Linked DNA regions of Homo sapiens: all the other regions are linked to region 1. The links are contacts of gene promoters, found by promoter capture Hi-C in human tissues and cell types (Jung and others, 2019). All regions are on one chromosome and are shown on one strand. Each heading gives the region's core, a stretch centred on a gene start or on the middle of the fragment in contact. The rest is flanking DNA. Distances are from core to core; before and after follow the strand shown.

Region 1 (4,669 bases), core at 350-2,849:
GAGCTGCCAGTGTGATGGGCAGTGTGAGTGAAAGGGCTGGGCAAGAAGCTCAGAAGAGTAAGCGTCTGAGGCAGAGGCCAGACAAGCAGAGGAGCTGTCAGCTTGGGTGGTTCCTAGGCTGGAGATGTACACTGTAGACAGGGTCATAATGGAACTTGGGGGGAAAATGGTTTTGGTATTTGACTCAGACCTCTAAGATCTGAGATGGGGGAGAAGTGTGGGGAAAGACAATGATTCTAGAGCAAGCCTTCAGCTGGCTCCTGTGACCTCAGGAAGACTGGAAGTCCATATCAGGATTTGAGGGTGGGGTATTTATTGCCTCCTCTATCTGCCTCCTCTAGTGGAAGTGGGACTTCCTAGGGCCAGGCCAGGCAAGAACATTTTTCTACTCCTGTTGACAGCCTCCTGGTAATGGGAAACCATTGAGAGGTTTTTGTTTGTTTGTTTGTTTGGTTTTTGATGGAGTCTGGCTTTGTTGCCCAGGCTGGAGTGCACTGCTGGAGTGCAGTGATCTCGGCTCACTGCAACCTCTGCCTCCTGGGTGCAAGCAATTCTGCCTCAGCCTCCCAAGTAGCTGGGACTACAGGCATGCACCACCATGCCCGGCTAATTTTTGTATTTTTAGTAGAGACAGGGTTTCACCATGTTGGCCAGGTTGGTCTCGAACTCCTGACCTCAAGTGATCTGCCCACTTTGGCCTTCCAAAGTGCTGGGATTACAGGCGTCAGCCACTGTGCCTGGCCGAGAGTTTTCTTAAACAAGGTTGATGGTAACATGGTGACATTTTTTAAAGGGTTGCTCGGGCTTGTGTCAAAATGATTTTGGTATCTGACTCAGAATGAATGGGACCAGGAAGTCTCACAGCTACCGAAGTCACCAGGAGTATGGCAGAACAGGGGCTAGTTAGGATGACCATGGGCCAGGGGCTGCAATCTTTAATGCATAAGGAACAATTGGGTGTCAGTGATGAGGAGGGGTGGAGGGTGGTATGACTGGAGACCACAGGAGAAAGAATTTTTGTACAAGGGTGGAAATGGCCATGCTGACACCACGTCCTGGTTTTATAGGGTGAATTGGAGAGTGAAGGCAGGAATTAGGAAGCTGTTGCATTAGTCCAAGCAAGAAGTGATGATGCTGGAGTCAGAACAAGGGCAATGGAGACACAGAGGAAGGGCAGGGATATGTTAAGGCGGTGGGATGTGGGGTGTGAAGGAAACACAGATAGGGTAGAGGACAGCGTCCAGGTTTCTGGCTTGGTTTCCGCTTGTAGTCAGCCTCCCTCTCTGGGCTTTTGTGAAGACGGAGCCATAGAACGGACCGGACCAGAAAGCAGTTTGGAAATGGCAAAACTGCTACCCATCATCAGCTACATTATCATCAAAGCTCTCTAATTACCCTAGTAAGTTCAGTCAATGGAACGAGGCATGACAATTAAGATAAATCACGAGAGTCACCCAGACATGGGGGACCTGGAGGTCCTGAGTCACCTCGGATTACACCTGCTAGGAGTTGAGGGCCGGGGCGGGGCGAACACAGACTCCGCCCTTGGGCGGGGCCTGGATGCGGCCGGAGCGGAGCAGTGCTGGAGCGGGAGCCTCAGCCCTCAGGCGCCACTGTGAGGACCTGACCGGACCAGACCATCCCGCAGCGCCCCGCCCCGGCCCCCTCCGCGCCCTCCCGACGCCAGGTCCTGCCGTCCCGCCGACCGTCCGGGAGCGAACCCGTCGTCCCGCACTCGGAGTCCGCGGTAAGGGGCGCGGCCCCGGCAGCCCGCCCGCGGAGGATCAGGGACCGATCCCCGGCGCGGGGCGCTGGGCACCGAGAGCGGGCGCCGAGAAGGAGCGCGGGGCAGCGGAAGGAAGCCGGGGGAGGAGCGAGGGAGGGGGCTCCGCGGCGGCAGAGGTGGGGCTCACCTAGGGAGGGGGCGCCGAGGGGGTCTCCCAGACGTTGGGGGCAGCCGGGGGAGCTCCAAGGGCGGGAGGGGAGCAAGAAAGACGGCGCTGGGGCTGGGAGGAGAGATGGGGGGCAACTGGAGGGCAGTGAGGGATCGCTGGGGGAAACGGGGGCGTGGGGGGCGGGGGAGCTGCGAGGAGGGCGGAGTGGGGCTGTGCGGAAAGGTGGTACCGGGCAGCCGAGGGGCAGCGAAGGGGGCGGTGAAGGGAGCGGACTGAGGGGAGCTAGAGCGGGGGTGCGGGGGGAGGCATGGAGGTGAGGAGCTGAGGGGAGGGGACTGGCTGGGCGGGGGTCGTTTGGAGCTGGAGGGGACTGAGGTGCCGAGGGCAAGGGGCGCTGGGCAGCTGGGGAGTGTCTGGTTGGGAGAGGGTCGGGGGTGGGGATGTGGGTATGGATAGCTGGGAAGGAGAAAGGCAGCAGGGCAGTGTCTGGTCGAAAGAGGGTCATTTATGGGGGATGTGGGTATGGATAGCTGGGGTCGGAGGTTGAGCCCGGCTGGGGACCGGCGTGGGGGTAACTGTAGATGGAAGACGAGGGGTGGGGCTTGGGGGCGGGAAGCTTGGGAGAATGGAAGGGTGAGAGGCCAGGTTGGGTCTACCCTGCTGCAGAGGAAGGGGGCAGGGAGCCGGTGGAGACACAGGGAAGTGGCCTTGGAAATGGACACAGGGGCCTACATTCTGGTCAGGAGTGGAGAGGAGGCTCTGGAATAGAGTAGGGTCTGGCGGCTGCAAGTGGAGGAATCGTGGGAGAACTTGGAGTGTATAGATAGGGTGGTGGGGCGCTGGGTCAGCCTGGGGAGGAGGCCAGGTGTGGGTCGTGGTGTAAGGGTGGAAAGGTAATGGGGGCTGGAGTGGTGTCCACGCACTAGCGGTGTCTCGGCCACTCAGGAGTCCAAGGAGGGGACCCAGGCACTGGACCTTGTTACACGGGCACCGGGGATCACAGAAAATAAGAGAATCGTGGACAGAAAAAGTCATCCAACTCTGTTCTGTAGTCCAAGCATGGAAGCAACTTTGGGGAGGGCAGGGCAGCAGCCTTTGGAAGCTAAGAGAGATGTGGAGGAGGTGGGAGAAAGATGGGCCCTCAAAACACACACACACACACACACACACACACACACACACACACACACACACAAAACAAGATGGGCCCTCTTCCCCCGGCTTCCTGGAATCCAGATGGAAAGGGGTGGGAGACAGTAAAAGGAGAGGATGTGTGTGTGTGTGTGTGTGTGTGTGTGTGCGCGCGCACAGGTGGGTGTCCACCTGTTCTGTGCCTATAAACAGAGGAAGACAATGGAAGCCGTGAAAGGCCCTATCTATAGAAGTGGAAAGCCCTGGTGCCCTGTGGGAGCCAGAGAAGAAGCATTTTGGGGGAGGTGGGTGGGTTGGGGAAGCCTTCCTGGTCATGAAGGATTTAGCTAGCAGTGGAGGAAAGTGTGTTCCTATCAGAGGAAACCGTATGGGAAAAGGCAAAAATCTAAAAGCATCTCCAGTCCAAGAAATAGATCTTCAGTTTCTTAAAGATTATGACATGAAGGGAGGCATCAGTAACCTATACAAAATATTTAAATAGATTTCCCCTCTAAGCTTGAAGCTCCTAGGGTTTCTCTCCATCTCCCTAAAGTATAGCACAGGTCCTGGTGCATAGTAGGTGCTTGGTGAATGTTGATTGAATGAATAATTGGTGCTCCTGCCTCAATTTCTTCATCCATTCCCAAGAATTGTTGTGAGAATCAAATAGGATAATGTGGGTGAAAAGAACTTTGTAAACTGTAAAACAATGTACAAAGAGAGAGGCCACTGATGTTATTCTGCAGGTGTTCCTGTTTTGTCAGTGGACACACCCATGGCTATCTCTTTCCAATCTGGAGGAGGAAGGAAATGAATATCAAGCATCTGTTGGTGCAAGATGGAATGCTTTGAAAGCATCTTGTAGAATGCTAGACATTTAGTAGGTGCTCAATAAATGGTAGCTATTGTGATATTGTTTCTGTGGCTCTAGGAGACCTGGGAAAACAATGAGAAGGTGGTGATGGGTCAGCAGTGGGGAATGGTCTAAAGACAGATTGAATTAGAAAAGTAGAGTATGGCTTAAAGGAGGATGAGGTCCACATTTGCCCAACTCCCTTCTTATTCTCACTGAAATGCTCCAAGTAGGAAGACAGGGAATTACATTATTGAGCCCCTGCTATATTGCATATACAGTTGACCTTTGAACAGCATGGGTTTGAACTGTGTAGGTTCACTTATACCTGAATTTTTTTTTTCAACCAAACACTGATTAAAAAAAATACCATGGTGGGTCAAGCGCAGTGGCTCAAACCTGGAATCCCAGCTATTTGGGAGGCTGAGGTAGGAGGATCGCTTGAGCCCAGGAACCTGAAGCTACAGTGAGTTATGATCAGGCCACTGTACTCCATCCTGGGAAACAGAGTGACACCCATCTCTTAAAAAAGAAGAAAAAGAGAAGAAAATACAGTAGTGAAGGGAGGTGAAGTCTGTATATTCAGAGGACCAACTTTTAGTCTAGGTGGGTTCCACTGGGCCAACTGTGGTTCTTGAGTAGGCGTGGATTTCGGTATATATGGGGGTCCTGGAGCCAATCCCTTGCCTATACCAAGAAATTACTGTACTATTCTAGATGTATAACCCACATTACCTATAATTTTCCCAACAACACTTGTTTTATGAATGAGGAAACTGTCTTAATCATG
Region 2 (4,551 bases), core at 693-3,192, 350 kb after region 1:
TAACAGAAATTTATTTTCTCAAGTTTTAAGGGGCTGGGAATTCCAAGATCCAAGCACCAGCATCTGGTGAGAGCCCTATTTATCGCAGAGCAGAGGGTGGAAAGGCAAAGAGTACAAGTGAGCGAGCCCTTTTTGTGATGGCGTTGATCTGTTTACAAGGGGACTGCCTAAACACTTTCCATTAGCCCCCACTTCCCAACACTGTTGCAGTGTTGCAGTTAAGTTTCCAACACATGAATGCTGGGGGACACATTTAAATTAGAGCAGTGATGATCAGAAAGTTATTGTTGGGAAAGGAGGTTCTATTTTAACTTAAGTAGCTTGAAAAAGCTCTTCAAGGAGTTGATACAAGAACTGAGATTTGAATTAGAGGACCGAGTAAAGTGAAGAATCTGCGGGCAAAGTCCCAGGCAGAGGGAAGAGCAGGAAATGATTCATCAGTAGACTTGCTCTCCCATTCTCGGCAAGGGCTATTTCACATTTTCTCCACTCTCTCCCTCAGCACATCTCCACCTGGCTTTCTCAAAGGCATTTAAAACTCAACATGGGCTGGGCGCGGTGGCTCACCTCTATAATCCCAGCACTTTGGGAGGCTGAGGCGGACAGATCACATGAGGTCGGGAGTTCAAGACCAGCCTGGCCAACATGGTGAAACCCTGTCTCTACTAAAAGTACAAAAATTAGCCGGGTGTGGTGGCACACGCCTGTAATCCCAGCTACTAGGGAGGCTGAGGCAGCTAGAATTGCTTGAACCTGGGAGACAGAGGTTGCAGTGAGCCGAGATTGCGCCACTACACTCCAGCCTGGGCAACAGCGCAAGACTCCGTCTCAAAAACAAAACAAAACAAAACTCAATATGTATAAAACTAACTCGTGATCCTGTCTCTCTTCCATCCAATCAATCAAAGTCCCCTCATTTCTGTCTCATAAAAGCTCTCAAATCTTCTTTCATGAGGTCATAAGGGAAAAAGAAAAACAAACTCTCAAAACCTTTCATTTAACCTCATCTCTACCATCAACCACCCCAATCCAGCCCTCTACAATACATCCCAATATTGTATCACCTGCTTTTTTTTTTTTTTTTTTTTTTTTTTTTAGACAAGGTCTCACTCTGTTGCCCAGGCTGGAGTGCAGTGGCACAATTTTGGCTCACTGTAACCTCTGCCTCCTAGGCTCAAGTGATCCTCCCACCTCAGCCTCCAGAGTAGCTGGGACTACAGGCATGTGCCACCACACCCAGCTAATTTTTTTTTTCCTTGTAGAGAAGGGGTTTCGCCTTGTTGCCCAAGCTGCCTCAAACGCCTGGGCTCAAGCGATCTACCCACCTCAGCCTCCCAAAGTGCTGAGACTACAGGAGTGAGCCACCGTACCCAGCCTGTATCACCTTCTAATTCTTCTCTATCTCTTCTTCCTCTCCTCCAATCCTTTCTCCACACAGGAGCCAGGAGTCTTTTCAAAACATGAATCTGATCAGGTTACTTCTTCGATTAAAAAACAAAACAAGCAAGCAAGCAAAAAAAAGTACTTCATGGCTCTACATTGCACTTAAAATAAAATGCACATTTATCAATTTGCTCTCTCTAGAGACCCTGCTTGGCCTGGCTCCAGCCTACCTCAAAATACCCCATCATCCCTGGGCCCCACCCACACTCATCTTTCAGTTCCCTGAACCAGCCAATCACTTTCTTGCCTAAGGACTTTTACATGGATTGTTCTCATTGCCTGAAGTGCCTTTACTCATCTACCCTCACTCTTTTTACTGGCTAATTCCTACTTACCCTCAGTTCCCTGAGGAGGGAAGCTTTACCTGAACCTCTAGAGCAGATAGCCAACCCTTCACTTCTAACAAGGATATAATAAAACCCTTTTTTTCCCATAATACTGTGGGAAAATAAAATCCTATGGGCTTGAGTGTATCCCCCAAAAGTTCATGTGTTAGAAACCTAATCCCTCCGTCCTCATGAATAGATTAATGAGGACTCTGTCCTCCTTGATGGATTAATGTCACTATCACAGGAGTGTGCTCTTTATTGATGGAGTGACTTTGTCGTAAAAGCAATTTCCCTCACCTCTCTTGCTCTACCTCTCTCACCATGTGATGCCCTCCACCATGTTATGAAGCAGCAAGAAGACACTATGCTCTTCCAGCTGCTAAAACCATGAGCCAAAATAAACTTCTTTCCTTTATAAATTATCTAGTCTGTGGTATTCTGTTATAGCAACAGAAAACAGACTAAGACATAAAATGTCCATGGATTTCTCAATGTTCTTCTAAAAAGCTCTAGGGTCCTGGCAACATTTCTGCATGCCATAAGGATTAGATCTTTTGTTTTCAACTGGTCTGGAAGGATAATAAAACCCTCTCTCATTTCCCAGAGAAGTTTGAAAGGTTACAGCCTGGAGCAGTTCCCTAGGCCAAGCTTCCAAGGTGCTAAGAAAAGGGGTACAGCTATCTCCCTAGATATTTGTATGTAAAAAGAGATAAAACTCCAGATATGCCAAAGGGTTGGAGTTAGGATTTAGGCTTATTACCTTTCCTAAGTGACCATTTCATGAGGGGAGGGGGACAGTTGCCTATTTCCCCTTCATAGGAGAGAAAAATAATTTTTCCTTGTCCCCCACCTACAGAGTGTCTGGCTACTCACGCAGGACAATTGACCTGGCTTTTATAGCATCATCCTAGGGGTAAGGACTAGGGCAAAAGCAGGCCAATACATTTATTATTATGAAATGTCTCTGATCCAGAATACCTTGTGTGCATTCATGATAAAATTAACAAAGATAAATAATTAAGAGCCTGCCAAGTACTTTATAAATCTGTAATTAAACAATTCTGAAATTACTTAATTTCATCATCCCTATTAGCCTTAAATTCTAGGAGAATATTGACCTATTACACAGAGGAAACTCAAAAAATATTGAATAAATGATAGGACGGAGACACGTAAGTACAGCTAGCCATTTAAATTTTCATTAACGTAACCCTCAATTTTATGTACTATGCCTCAACAGCCAGTAATTTGAAGCTTCTATTCTTATTCTGATTATGTTGGTCAGAAAATTAAAATCGGCTGCCCAAAGACAAATTAAACTTCACAGATTTTAGTGTGTTACTAAGTCTGTTAAACCTGCCTCAAAGGAAAAAAAAACATTTGGCCTTTACGCTAGCTACCATCTTTATAACCACTTGACACTTACCTTTTTTAAAAGTCAGTACTTTTTCTGTAAAGAAACATCTAAGGAATGCTGATTCCAAACATTCTAATCAATACTGTGTGCCTAGATCTAGGCAGCAAACACCTTAGGATATCTAGATTCTCTTCGATATACTGTCAGTGTGAAAATCAATTTATTCTGTAGATCTAAACAGATATTTATCTCGGCATTGACCCGGTGCTCCCAGGAAGCTGAGAAACAGATCCTAACCTCCAACTGTTACATTATCAAAATAGTTGGTGATATAATCAACACATTTGTAAGGCCCTGCTAGAAGTAATCTAGGATGGGGTTAAGCAACCAAAAGCAGCTTTTTGCTGGCTATAGAATAAAGAACCTTCTGGAAATCAGTAAATTAATAAAATCAGAAACAATTTTTATTTTCCCAGGGTAAGAAATTTCTGAAAGAGTCACATAAGTCTATCAGAAAGTAGAACTTATCTTGCCAAAATTAATTTCACAAACTATTCTAGAAAATATCCTTCTATGGCTTACTTAATGTGAGAAACATGTATTTATAGGAATACATACTGTAATGGACTGAATGTTTACATCCCCACAAAGTTCATATGTTGAAATCCCAACCCCTAAGATGATGGTATTAGGAGGTGCGCCTTTGGGAAGTGATTAGGTCACAAGGGCAGAGCCCTCATGAATGGGATTAATTCCCTTATAAAAGAGGCCCCAGTCAGAGCAAGGTAATGACCAACAATGAGATGACCTGCATTCTCAAGAGAATAGCTCATAATAATCTCAAATCACACAGCGGTCTGCCTGCTTGGTCCATTTCTTAAATCCTTAGGAAAAAGTAATTTTAAGAACATACTAAGAACTATTTAGCTAAATGTCAGTCTTAAATCTGCTTTAATATGGCAACGCACAGTGGCTCACACCTGTAATTTCAGCATTTTGGAGGCTGAGGCAGGGGGATCACTTCAGGCCAGGAGTTGGAGACCAGCCTGGGCAACATAGTGAGAACCCATCTCTAAAAAAAAAAATTTTTTTTAATTAGCCAGGTGTGGTGGCACACACCTGTAATCCTAGGTACTCAGGGGGCTGCGGTGGAAGGATCCTGTTAGCCCAGGAGTTAGAGGTTACAATGCACTGCACTCCAGTCTGGGCATCAGAGTGAGAGCCTGTTTCAAAAAAAAAAAAAAATTATCTTTACATTACTATTATTCCCACCCTATCTTTCAGAACCTAATTAATGCCTGGGACCTGGAAGGTATTATTAATAGATAAATGTCTGCTCAATGAATGGTCCCAGACCACTTTCCCAGTTATCTTACTCATCCAACAAACATAATTCACTCAAAATATGCCCATTCAGTCCCA
Region 3 (4,598 bases), core at 859-3,358, 370 kb before region 1:
CAGGTCACACAGCGATGTAGTACAGTGTTAGGAAGACAGCCCAAGTCTGGGAGCCGCCATGACTATGCTAGGGAACACATCCCCTCCTAACAGCCTCCTGGGCACCTGCAGGGTGAGCCCCCAGCACAGGCCCCAGTGGCCAAGAAACCTGCACGGCCCACAGTCCCTTCATCCCAGCGCCTGCCTGAGCCCAGGGCCTCAAGTTCTAAGGAGTCACCGAGTCCATCTGGTGAGTTGGGGACAAGCAGGGTGAAGAACTGAGGGCCTAGAGAGGGCAGGTGTGGCCCTAACCAGTGGCCTTCTCCCTTCAGTGCGGGAGCAGCTGGCACTGCTGGAGGCACGGAAACTGCAGTATCAGCGGGCAGCCCTGCAGGCCAAGCGCAGCCAGGACCTGGAGCAGGCCAAAGCCTATCTGCGGGTAGCCAAATGGCTTGAGGCTCAGATCATCCAGGCCCGATCTGGCAGACCTGTTGATCTGTCCAAGGTGAGTCCCACCTGGTTAACCACCAGGACTTCTCAGGCGGAGGTGGCGGCTGGCAGGCTTGACAGGCTGTGAACAAGGGCAGCTTCTGGGATGAGGCAGGGTTTGGACAGAGCATGATGACAGCTGGGAAAGAGCCTTTTGCTCATACTCCTCTACCTCACGGCCCCAAAGGAAACCAGGAGAAGGGAAGGTGGGCTGCCTGTGGTCAGAGATGACAAGGCTGGGCCAGGCCATGGGAGGCAAGAGTGTTATTTTGGGATAGAATGGGAGGCGATGAGTTGTCATCACTGGACTTTAGTAGAAGCTGAAGAATTACTTAGTTTGGGCTCCTGCCTTTGTTGGACTTGGTAGAGGAGTAATCTGACTCTTGGGGCCCGAGGGGCCTTGTGACCTGGGTAGGTGCCTTCGCCCTTGACGGATGAGGAGGGTGACTTCATCCTCATCCACCATGAGGACCTGCGACTCTCCCAGAAGGCGGAGGAGGTGTATGCCCAGCTGCAAAAAATGCTTCTGGAGCAACAAGAGGTCAGCAGGCCCCTCGTCTGTTCCTCCCCTCTGTGCCCACAGCCTCCCCGTGGAGGAAGACCTGGAGCTCAGACCACACAGCCCTGGACTCAAAATTCTCAGCTCTTCCACTTACTCACTGTGTGACTTGGGCAAGGCACTTTCTTCTCTGAACTACATTTTCCTCATCTATGAGATGGGGTGATAATACCCCTTTCAGGGTGGTACAAACAACAGAGAAGAGGGAAAGAACATTGTGATGTGCGTGTATGTTTATGTATTTATCTATCTGAACTGCCACCTGTTCTGGAAAGGCTGCCTTCTGAGGGGATGTTTGAGTTAGGTTTTGATGGAAGGAGTTGCTAATTTGGGGAATGGCTCTCCTCAGAAGAGAAAATGACAAAAGTGTAGGCAGAGAAACGTGGTGGGACTTGGGAGTAGTGCCCTTGGGGCTGTGTTGTGGGAGGAGAGAGGTGAGGCTACAGAGGAAAGTTGAAGCTTTGAGAAGTCTAGCCTTGAATGCCAACCAAGGCAGGTCCTGCTCTGGGCTCGGGAGTCACTCTGGGCCTCTATTTTCAGAAGTGCCTGCTGTTCTCCAAGCAGTTCATGCACCAGGGCAACGTGGCTGAGACCACCCGGTAAGTGCAAGGGCTGGGGCTGGGCTCATAGGGTGGGGAGCAGAAAATCCACCATCATGCTGACATACCCATCCCTGTCAGATTTGAGAAGCTTGCTCAGGACCGCAAGAAACAGCTGGAGATCCTGCAGCTGGCCCAGGCTCAGGGCCTCGACCCTCCCACCCACCACTTTGAGTTGAAGACATTCCAGACTGTGAGGTACCAAGGCCTAGGGAAACAGGGGCTCCAGGCAGGGAGGGGCAGGAGGCTGGGAGCCCAGGCCAGAGACTGCTACCCCTTTAGTGAGGCTTCCCAAGCCTGGCCCCGCTGTGGGCACTGGGGCTGCTGAGGACGACAGGGTGCATGCTAGTGGAGAGCGCACAGCTGTCTGGGTGCTGTGGAAAGAGCTCTGGACCAGAAGTCAGAGATCAAGGTCTGCATACCAGCTCTGCCTTCCCTCCCGTCACCACCCAGCTGGGCAGACAGGCCCTGGACGAAGGGACCTTGTTCCACTACTGTCCTTCACTTTTGAGCATTTTCTCCTTCCCGCTTGGCTCTAGGATCTTCTCAGAACTCAACAGCACAGAAATGCATCTGATCATTGTCCGGGGAATGAACCTCCCAGCCCCTCCAGGTAACCCTAGGGCCGCCCCTACTCCAGGAGGCTCTTGCCCGGACACTCCAAGTGCTAGGCTCCTGGCCACTCCCTCTGACTTGACTCCCTTTTCTCCTTCCCAGGGGTGACTCCCGATGACCTGGATGCTTTTGTGCGGTTTGAGTTTCACTACCCTAACTCGGTGAGGTTCAGGTAGAAGTAGGATCCTCTGAAACCCGCCTTGCATTCCAGGACCCTGTGCTCACTTTCTTCCCATCCCTGGGAGGTGTGGCTGCAGTGCCTGCCCTGTGTGCCTCTTTGTTTATACGCTGTCCTGACTTCTCCCTCCTCACTGCTTAGGACCAGGCTCAAAAAAGCAAAACAGCTGTGGTGAAGAACACAAACTCTCCAGGTGAGGGCCACACGTGGGCCTCTTTCTCCTCCCTCAGAGTGTGTGGGCAGCACTGGTGTTTCCAGAGTGGGTTCCCATCTATGCCCTTACTTGATCCACCCCACTTGGGAGATAAAGGTGCTGTTAACATGCTTCTTCTGTAGTTGGAGAAACACGCAGAGAGGTACAGGGACTTGCCTGGGGCCTCATGGCAAGGAAGTGGTAGAAATGGGATATGAACACAGGAATTCTGTATCCCAATTCCAAGTCTTTCCTACTTTGTTACAATCTATGACTAAAAAGAGTACAAAAACTCACTTCCAAGGCCAGGACCGCGATGCTCTACCACCCTTTGGAGGCAGTACCCCAAAATGCAGGTGGAGAGATTGGGGGAAGGCAGCCAGCCCTGGGCCTCCATTTCCACTTCCTCAGGAAATCCCGAGAGCCAAGCCCCTCCTTGCTTTCTCCCCCTTTGCCAGAATTTGATCAACTCTTCAAACTAAACATCAACCGAAACCACCGGGGCTTCAAGAGGGTGATCCAGAGCAAAGGCATCAAGTTTGAGATCTTCCACAAAGGGTGAGGCTCCTATCGGTCATGCTGCCACACGGGCCGGGAGGAGGGAAGAGCGTTTGTCACTGCTGCCCCTGCATGGGCTCAGCCAGCACATTCCTGCCTTCCCTGCCCAGTCCAATCCTCTGCTGCCTCTTGACTCCCCAGGTCCTTCTTCAGAAGCGACAAGCTGGTTGGCACAGCACACCTGAAACTGGAGCGGCTGGAGAATGAGTGTGAGATCAGAGAAATTGTGGAGGTAGGGGCTGGGGTGTGGGCAAGCCAAAGGGGTTGGTACGACAAGAGCCAATACGCACTGAATGCCACACCTTGTTGTAGGTTTTCGTGCTCATTACTTAATTTGAAATTCTCCACAAGTGTGCTTAGAGTAGGTGGAATCCTCATTTCACAGATGGAGAGGTTCAGAAGGTCTGAGAAATCTCACAGAGGGACCCAGGAGAAGGCAGCCTCCTTGTTTCCATGAACTCAATGGATTCCACAGGCAAGGACTATACGACCTTGCCTCTGACAAATGAGGAAACTCAGGTCCGAGAGGAAAGGGGGTTCTGTAAGCTCATATGGTGTGTCCTTGGCAGAGCTACGACCAGCTCCTTACTGATAACCTATGTAGGCTGGGGCTCTTCCCACTGTAGCACACCTGGCCCTACTGCCTGCCTGGGGAAGTTGTTCTTATGCGGGCCCTGGTCTCTATTGGAGCCACTGAGGGTGGTTGGACTTCTTGGGCCTATTGTACTGCTTTGTGCCCTAATTGACTGCCTCATCTTCTGCCCAAAAGAGGGAGTAGCGTGGTGAATGGGAAGGAACCCTGGGTTTGGGGTTCCAGTGCTGACTCTGCCACATAGAGTCATCTGCTTCTCTCTCTTGGCCATCTGTGAAGTGAGGGTTTGGGTCAGTGGAAGGCTGCTTCTTCAAGCCAATGTTTCTTCCAGAAGTTGCCGTGGGGATTGAGGAGAAAATGAACAGAGCTCTAGGATGCTTGTCTGGATTTATTTATTACTTTTTTAATAAGACTCACCTAAAACCACCACCACCTCCTCCTCCAAATACTGGGAGGGTAGGGTTTTCATGAATGGAGATTCCTGTGTTCATGCCACAGGACATCTTAGCTCCTCTCACTTCTTTCCTGGGAATGTAGGGACCTGCCTGCTCCCCATCTCTGTCCCCTTAGTTACCATTTCCCTCTCTGTGGTCCTCACAGGTCCTGGATGGAAGGAAGCCCACCGGGGGGAAGCTGGAGGTGAAGGTGAGGCTGCGGGAGCCTCTGAGTGGCCAGGATGTGCAGATGGTCACTGAGAACTGGCTGGTTCTGGAGCCCAGGGGCTTGTGAGGTGGGCAGCTCTCTGGGCCTTCAGAACCTTTGCCCCCTCCTTTTACTCAACTAACTACTCAACTCATATCTGGAGAGAAAACCTAGGAGTTTCTCATCTATGAGAA

What was found. Contacts are between HindIII fragments. The study calls those that stand out against the background at their distance.
Region 2: a contact is called between a fragment that was not itself captured here and the fragment with the promoter of RAB3B in region 1, in 1 of the 25 tissues and cell types used here (spleen).
Region 3: a contact is called between a fragment that was not itself captured here and the fragment with the promoter of RAB3B in region 1, in 1 of the 25 tissues and cell types used here (spleen).

The regions. Positions count from the first base shown.
Region 1 is chr1:51,987,630-51,992,298 of GRCh38, reverse strand. It overlaps RAB3B (RAB3B, member RAS oncogene family), which reads left to right and starts at 1,599. Exons shown (of 5, transcript NM_002867.4): 1 at 1,599-1,747. RefSeq lists a silencer at 1,576-1,685. The HindIII fragment of the contact is 14,307 bases long and covers 1-3,027 here.
Region 2 is chr1:51,640,624-51,645,174 of GRCh38, reverse strand. All of the region lies in intron 1 of OSBPL9 (oxysterol binding protein like 9), which reads right to left. Among named protein-coding and RNA genes, the nearest start is that of OSBPL9, 26 kb to the right of the region's middle. The HindIII fragment of the contact is 3,924 bases long and covers 1-3,904 here.
Region 3 is chr1:52,353,412-52,358,009 of GRCh38, reverse strand. CC2D1B (coiled-coil and C2 domain containing 1B) reads left to right here. Exons shown (of 25, transcript NM_001330585.2): 14 at 112-229; 15 at 312-484; 16 at 884-1,009; 17 at 1,568-1,626; 18 at 1,708-1,824; 19 at 2,166-2,239; 20 at 2,344-2,402; 21 at 2,561-2,612; 22 at 3,071-3,170; 23 at 3,312-3,402; 24 at 4,363-4,492. The coding sequence ends at 4,491. Among named protein-coding and RNA genes, the nearest start is that of CC2D1B, 10 kb to the left of the region's middle. RefSeq lists an enhancer at 338-839. The HindIII fragment of the contact is 6,192 bases long and covers 1-4,598 here.